Regions from separate parts of the Homo sapiens genome. Here region 2 is linked to region 1. The links are contacts of gene promoters, found by promoter capture Hi-C in blood cells and fetal thymus (Javierre and others, 2016). All regions are on one chromosome and are shown on one strand. The core of a region is centred on a gene start or on the middle of the fragment in contact, and the rest is flanking DNA. Distances in the headings are between cores, read along the strand shown. Region 1 holds the start of GPR20 (G protein-coupled receptor 20). Region 2 overlaps PTK2 (protein tyrosine kinase 2).

Region 1 (3,676 bases), core at 150-2,649:
GCGCAGTTCCCTATGTCCCTGCTTTCCTGTTCGCTGTGCTTCCCTCACTGAACTGGAGTGCCTCAGGGGCCCTGGCCTTGGCTGGCCCCTCTGAGTCACTGAGTCACTGCTGAGTGATGGAGTGGATGATTTTAGAATACCCCTCTGATCTCCTTGAGCCTCAGTTTCCTCATCTATAAAGAGGAGATGCTAATACCACTTAACAAGAAGACAATGAAGCCACCCCGTGGGCTCCAGGAGCTGCTCAGAAATGGTCCAAACTGCATGGCCCCCACGCCCGGCTCTCCAGCCGCAGACCCCGCCTTTGCTGATGGGCCCACACCGTGTGGCTCAGAGAGGGGCAGCGACTTGCCACGGCCACTCAGCAGACCGCCCTGGAGCCCAGCGACTGGATGAGTCCTGGGGGGAGAGGGGAGGGAAGACCCAGGATGACCAGCTGTTGAAGGAAGAAGACAGGGCAAGTGGACAGGCCCAGCCTCCTGCGGGGTGCATTCCCCGTCCTGCGAGGTCGCCAGCTGCTCCACGTCTGCCCCGCCAGCACCCTGGCTGCTGGCCAGTTCCCAGCCCGCTGCCCCCTCGGGACCCTGTCCTGCCGCCTTCTCACAGCGCAGTCCCAGTGCGAGCTTCGCGGGGCTGGAGCCAGCTTCTAGGTCCACACTGAGGGCTGGCAAGCAAGCCTTCCCTGGGACTCAGTTTCCCCACCCCTAAGGGGTAGAGACAGCACCAAGGCTACTGCAGAGGGCCTGAGCTGTGGGATGGCAGGACGGGCACTCTGAAGAGGGAGCATGGCGCTTGGAGCCCATGCCCACAAAGCCCTCACCATGGCCCTGCCCCAGCTGCGGGGTGGTGGTGGCTGAGGCCCCAGAGCCTGCCAAGTGCCTCTGGGGTCCCCCAACTCTGTCCCTGGCTTGGCCTGTGGGCCACCCTGCTGCCTTGCCAGGTGGGGAAACCAAGACCCAGCTCTGGGCACCCAGCAGATGCTCGGTGAGTGTTGAACGGAGGGATGAATGAGTGAATGAATGAAATCCAGAGTTGGGTGGGCACCTAGCAGCGCAGCTCCCCCTTATGCAGCCAGCCCAACTCACGCCCATGTTCTCCCTCAGGTCTCTGTTTTCTCATCTGAGAAATGGCTCCCTGTCCAGCAGGACCTGCTCTGAGCTCTCCCCAGCCCGGATCTGGAGGCAGTTTCTCTGCCCTGCCCTTCCCACTCCTGCTTGGCTGGGGGTGAGAACCCCTGCAGGGAGCAGCTCAGGAGCCTCCTATCTAGGGAAGCTGGGGAGAGGGAGGCTGGGGCCAGCCCACAGGGGAACTTACCGCGCTTCACCCGGGCAGGCTGGAGATGGGAGTCCTCAGCTCTCAGCTCTGCATGCAGCCCGGACCTCGCCTTCCTACGGCCTGACGTCAGGCCAGCGCTTGGGGCTCCTTTTGGGCAAAGGCAGGGTGGGGGCGGGGCAGGCTCCTTCCCCGCCCCCAGGAGGAGTCAAGGCTCAGAGCCTGAGGGACGGTGCCTGGGGCACCAGAGTCCCCACACCCACTGGAGACAGAAGAAGAAACCGAGGCACAGAGGGGCCTGGGGCACCAGAGTCCCCACACCCACTGGAGACAGAGGGGGAAACTGAGGCACCGAGGAGCTGAGCCTCAGCTGCACCATCCAGGAGGTGGTGGCTGGCACTTGTGTGTGCCGTGTGCAGGGCAGGAGGTGGGAAACTGAGGCACGGAGGGGCTAAGCCTCAGCTGCACCATCCAGGAGACAGTGGCTGGCACTTGTGTGTGCTGTGTGCGGGGCAGGAGGGGGAAACTGAGGCACGGAGGGGCTGAGTCTCAGCTGCACCATCCAGGAGATGGTGGCTGGCACTTGTGCGTGCTGTGTGCGGGGCAGGAGGGGAAAACTGAGGCACAGAGGGGCTGAGTCTCAGCTGCACCATCCAGGAGACGGTGGCTGGCACTTGTGTGTGCTGTGTGGGGGGCAGGAGGGGGAAACTGAGGCACGGAGGGGCTGAGTCTCAGCTGCACCATCCAGGAGATGGTGGCTGGCACTTGTGCGTGCTGTGTGCGGGACAGGAGGTGGGAGCACACGAAAGCCCAATTTCCTTCCCGGGAGGGGGCATGTGCATGGTAGCTTCAGCCCACGCAAGCCTGGGTTCCTGCATGGCTCTCTGTTTTGCATGTGTCCTGGGTTTGGCTGTGTCTGTGTGTACCCATGACCGACAGCCTGCACACCTGGCATCTGGGCCTCTGTTTGCACCCATGCACCGGTGGCATGTGGCATGTGGGGTCAGGTGTGTGGGAAAGACCTGGACGTGACCCAGGCCAGCAGGTGGGGAGAGCGTGTGGGACCCGGACCTCAGTGCTGGAGGAAGCGTGAGCTCATCAACAGGCTTGATCCCAGAGGGCTGCTGGAGGGCCACTCTCCCCAGACAGCTTCAGAGCCAGGAGGCCTTGTGGCCAGCCTGGGGTGGCAGCGGGGGTTGTCGGGGAGCGGTTGGGGCCATTTAGTTAGTGTCTCCTCTGCCGAGAGCACCATCTCCTCTTGTTCCCATCCCGTGTGCTTCTGCTGATACTCACACTTTAACCTTCCAGCCGCCTGAGTGCCGAGGCCCTGCTGAGTGGGTTGTACTGCACACCGGAGACTCAGGGAAGGCTCCCCAAGGGAGGGGCTGGGCCTTCCCGAGCTCAGGCTGGTTGTAATGCAGACCAACAGGAGAGAGTAGGTGGGCCCTAGGGTCCTGACCCAGCCTGCTGGGGAGGGATGCCGTCTGGGAAGGCTTCCTGGAAGGGGCAGAGGGAGGTATAACAGGAGGCAGGCAGCCCAGATGGGCAGAGGGACAGGAGGCCATCAGAATATTTCCTGGGGAGCAAAGCTGGGAGTGGGCAGGGGACTTCTACACTGAGTCTCAGCAGCCTCTATGGGTACCAGAGTGCTGCAACAGGGAGCCATTGAAAGTTCTGGGAGAGGATGGTTTCTTCACTCTGGAGCAGCCTCCCTGCGGCTGCAGGGCTGAGCCCACAGGCTGCAATTATCTCCTTTAGAACATCGTTGTGTCTGTTTTAGCTGGGGAAACTGAGGCCCAGAGAGGCACAGGAGTCTCTGGCCACCAGCCTCTTGCACCTCTCTGGACCAGGACTGGCTCCTGGCAGGCAGGGTTTCACCGGGCTTGTGGAAGGTGGGGGTGGATGCAATGTCATTTTTGTGTGGGGGTGGCCTGGAGGCAGCCCAGATTGGGCAGGGCTGGAGCCAGAGGAGGCTCAGATTTCCTGAGCAGGCGAGGGTGGCTGAGTCACCGCACCAGTGCCAGGCCTCATGCCCACCTCTGAGGGCCTGGGGCTCCAGCCTTGCACTCTCAGGCTTGTTCTCAGAGAAATCTCAGAGACGGTCCCCCAGCAAACAGCGGGGAACTGCCTGGGGAGGGGTCACAGCCCACGCCAGCCTCCCTGACTCCTCCCCCAGGGAGACTCTTCTCAGCAGGACCCAGGGATCCTCTTGGGGGGACACCAGGGATGGGGGTCCCGAGCTCAGGGCCAACACTCCACAACCCTCAGAGGAGACAGGGCACAGGGACAATTTCCTCCTTGTCATCTTTATCAGGCTGGCAGGTCAGGCCAGGCTGTCTGTGACTGGGGTCAGGGGTCAGAGGTCAGAGAGTGGCTGTGCCCAGGGTCAGGACCCCTTCAGGTG
Region 2 (3,292 bases), core at 307-2,806, 530 kb before region 1:
CAACCCAGCTACACATCTATTTTTCTCAGAGCCAGGCATAACTAAAGAACTTACCATATTCATTGCTGTCACAAATAAGAAAGTTAAAGATAAACCAAAAGTGTTGTATGATTCAAGAAAAATGAAAGGAAGCATATGTTTTTTGAAAATAAAGACGAATACTAGGTATTGCTTTTACTTCAAAGGTGAAGACAACTCCATTAAAAAAAAAAGAAACCTGAAGGCTAATAATTAGCATATATACAGTTTAGGTTTTCTTAAACTTCTTTTGACTAATAATGAATTTGTAACGTTTGTCCATATGTTAGAACTTTTTTGATACCTGGCAGTTGAGAAAATAAAAATGAGGCTCAAGTACACAAGGTCATGGTAAAAATTCTGCAACGCTGCCTTTAACACATTTTAATTTAATCTCGAAATCAAACTACTTCAGGTTTTGTGATAGAGGACTCTGAGCCCACCTAAGGTACTATGTTCAAAGTTTTTAGGGAAAGCCTATTATAGATATCTAAATTTAAAGCCTTAGGAAACCAAACAGGGACTTGTAGGCTGTCCCATTTTTAATATGAGGTCGCCTCTCTCCATGATCTGTGTGTTTGGGACTGGTTTACAATGTGCACTCTAATCAGCAGTAGTTTTGCCTCAAGTGGCGTAAAAACCTTCTTTGAGCCCAAACTCTACACAACTGTCCTGTATGCGAATAAAACAACAAATACAACTTACACATCATCAACAAAATATAATTACTAACCTTTATCATACAATAATTCCTTACTATATTAACTGTCAAAGGATATGTCCTAAATGCATTTAAACTCATGTAATAAAAAACTAACTCACATGAAGCTTTTAGAATATTGCCAAACCCCAATTCCCAAACCCAAGCATCAGTTTATTAGATTCCCACATCAGTTCAGAGAAACCTCTTGAACCCATACACAGATGACAAGACACTAATATTAGGTTAGAACTGTGTTGTCCAATATACAACCGCTAGTGATATGTAGCTATTTATACTTACATTAGTTGAATTAAATTAAAAATTCTGTTCCCAACTGCAATGCTCATCACATTTCAAGTGATGAGCAGTCCCATGTGGCTAGAGGCTACCAAACTAGGTGGGGCAGTCACAGAACAGTTCCATTGTCGCAGAAAGCTGCAATGGGTGGGGCTGGGCCAGAGCAATGAATCTAGGACTTCAGCCACCCTCATTCTCTAGGGCTTGGTGCTGTGGGCCCAAAGGCTCCTCAGTAAGCACAGGGATGGGTGAAATGCATGAGCACTGGGAATAGGTGCAGAGTTACCACAGGGACAACCACTCAAGGTTCTTGCCTTGCTCAGAAAGACTGGGGAAAGAAGGTATAGAGGCATGAGGAGAGAGCTCTACCATGACAATGCAGAAGGCAGCAGATCTCACAGGAGACAGCTGTATGTTAAGAAGCCTTTCGTTGGGACTGCTTGTATATACATAGCAGAGGGCTTCTAAGTATTACCTTTCCTACTTCTCTCTCAGGACTAACAAAAACGGTTTCTATGATCTATTCACTAAGATTCAAATCATTTAGATTTGAAGCTACAAAGAAAAGAGAGGCTGTATTCATTTACTCCCTCACTGAGACCATATGACATACTAGGCACTATAACAGATCATGGGATAGAAAAATCGCTAATATGTTTCCTTTTCTTAAGTGAGATAATTACATAAACAACTAACTACAACACAGTGTGAAAGGTACTATAAGATAAGAGTTTAAAACCAATACACTTAGCCATCGAGATTTAAGGTTTTTCTGGCCAATTTTAAACAGAACTCTCTTAATGTTTAACTGACCTCTATCCTTTAAGTGAAAGATTTAGAACACTGCTGACTGATATGGTCTTCTTTCTCTTTTGCTAAACCTCAGAATCCCATTTAACACTCCACTGATTCCTGTTGCCATTTAGCATTTTTGGAAAATCCTTAGAGAGCTCTGCCCTCCCACATTCCTGCATGATGACTATGCACCTCCTCATATTCCTCCTTTCACACCACAGTGGCCATCCAGAATGCTGCAGGAAAAGAGGCTGTGTAGGAGGGCCTCTCCCCACCTGCACCAGCTGACTGCCATCAGCATTCCCCACTCACTGAGATGAATCCTCTAGGTGCCCATCTAGTCCCAGCCTGTGGCCTTATCCTGCACGTGTATTCATATCCACAAATTCATAACACAGCTGGCTTTTAGAAGCCTCAGATGGGAATCAACTTTCTTTACATATTAAAAAGAAACTAAGCTTATTATAAGCACATTTTTAAGTCAAGGATAAATTTATTTCTCTTCTGGCAATATTTCTGAGAAGATTCTTGTCTGTTGACCCTGTTTAATATTTTGTGAACATAATCCCTCAAATACTTAAAACCCAGGCAAAAATGCAGCCAAAACTAACTTCAAATATAACTTAAATAGGCATTTCCATGTAGTAACTCTTACTCTTTCTCCAAAACTGTCAGAATTGAGTATATTTAATTTAGAAATAGTATGGTGGTACTTTCACCTCTAAATTATACTCAAGCTTCTTAACAGACAAATGTTAAAATTATCTAACTGCAACAGAGATTGCTGTTTCTTAATGACATTCTCCCCTTCATCCTGGGGATGAAGTTGTCTTTTGGCCAGGTAAAGTGCTGCCTTCCCCAGTCTCTTCTGTAGCAGGTATGGCTATGCGACTATGTTTTCTCCTATGTCCCTCTAAGGGAAAGTATTAAACAGCAGGTTCATAAATAATGTCATTATTATGTAATGTTGTTTCATTATAGTGTTGATGAGAAAAAAAATTGATTCCCAGCTGGGCCACTATATGGAGTGTGCATGTTCTCCCTGTGTCTGTGTGGGGTTTCTATGGTTACTCCACTTTCCTCCCACATCCCAAAGATGTGCATGTTAGGGGAACTGGTGTGTCTGAATTGTCCCAGGATGAGTGAGTATGGGGTTGGGGGAGTGAGTACTCCCTGTGACGAGAATGGCATCCTGTCCAAGGCTGGCTCCTGACCTGCATCCTGAGCTGCTGGGATAGGGTCCAGCCACCCACGACCCTGAACTGGAATAACTGGGTAAATAATTATCTGGTTTTTTTTTTAATCAGACTTTTTAAAATGTATGCTTACATTTATTCCAATGTTTAATATTAGAAGTGTTTTGGGTCTCTACTTAGAAGCTGGGGATGTTTTTGTGACGAGAAACATTCCACAAGAACTTAACTCTTGTTTATATCAATTAGCCCACGGTAAAACTGGTTTCACTTTATGTCGTTTCAC

The links. The method cuts DNA at HindIII sites, captures the fragments that hold promoters and counts their contacts. A CHiCAGO score of 5 or more calls a contact.
Region 2: a fragment that was not itself captured here is called in contact with the fragment with the promoter of GPR20 in region 1 in 1 of 17 cell types (monocytes); the score reaches 6.4 in monocytes.

Annotation. Positions count from the first base shown.
Region 1 is chr8:141,365,887-141,369,562 of GRCh38, forward strand. It overlaps GPR20 (G protein-coupled receptor 20), which reads right to left and starts at 1,400. Exons shown (of 2, transcript NM_005293.3): 1 at 1,315-1,400. RefSeq lists an enhancer at 2,163-2,712 and a silencer at 3,077-3,259. The HindIII fragment of the contact is 50,298 bases long and covers 1-3,676 here.
Region 2 is chr8:140,832,974-140,836,265 of GRCh38, forward strand. All of the region lies in intron 7 of PTK2 (protein tyrosine kinase 2), which reads right to left. Among named protein-coding and RNA genes, the nearest start is that of MIR151A, 100 kb to the left of the region's middle. The HindIII fragment of the contact is 1,425 bases long and covers 845-2,269 here.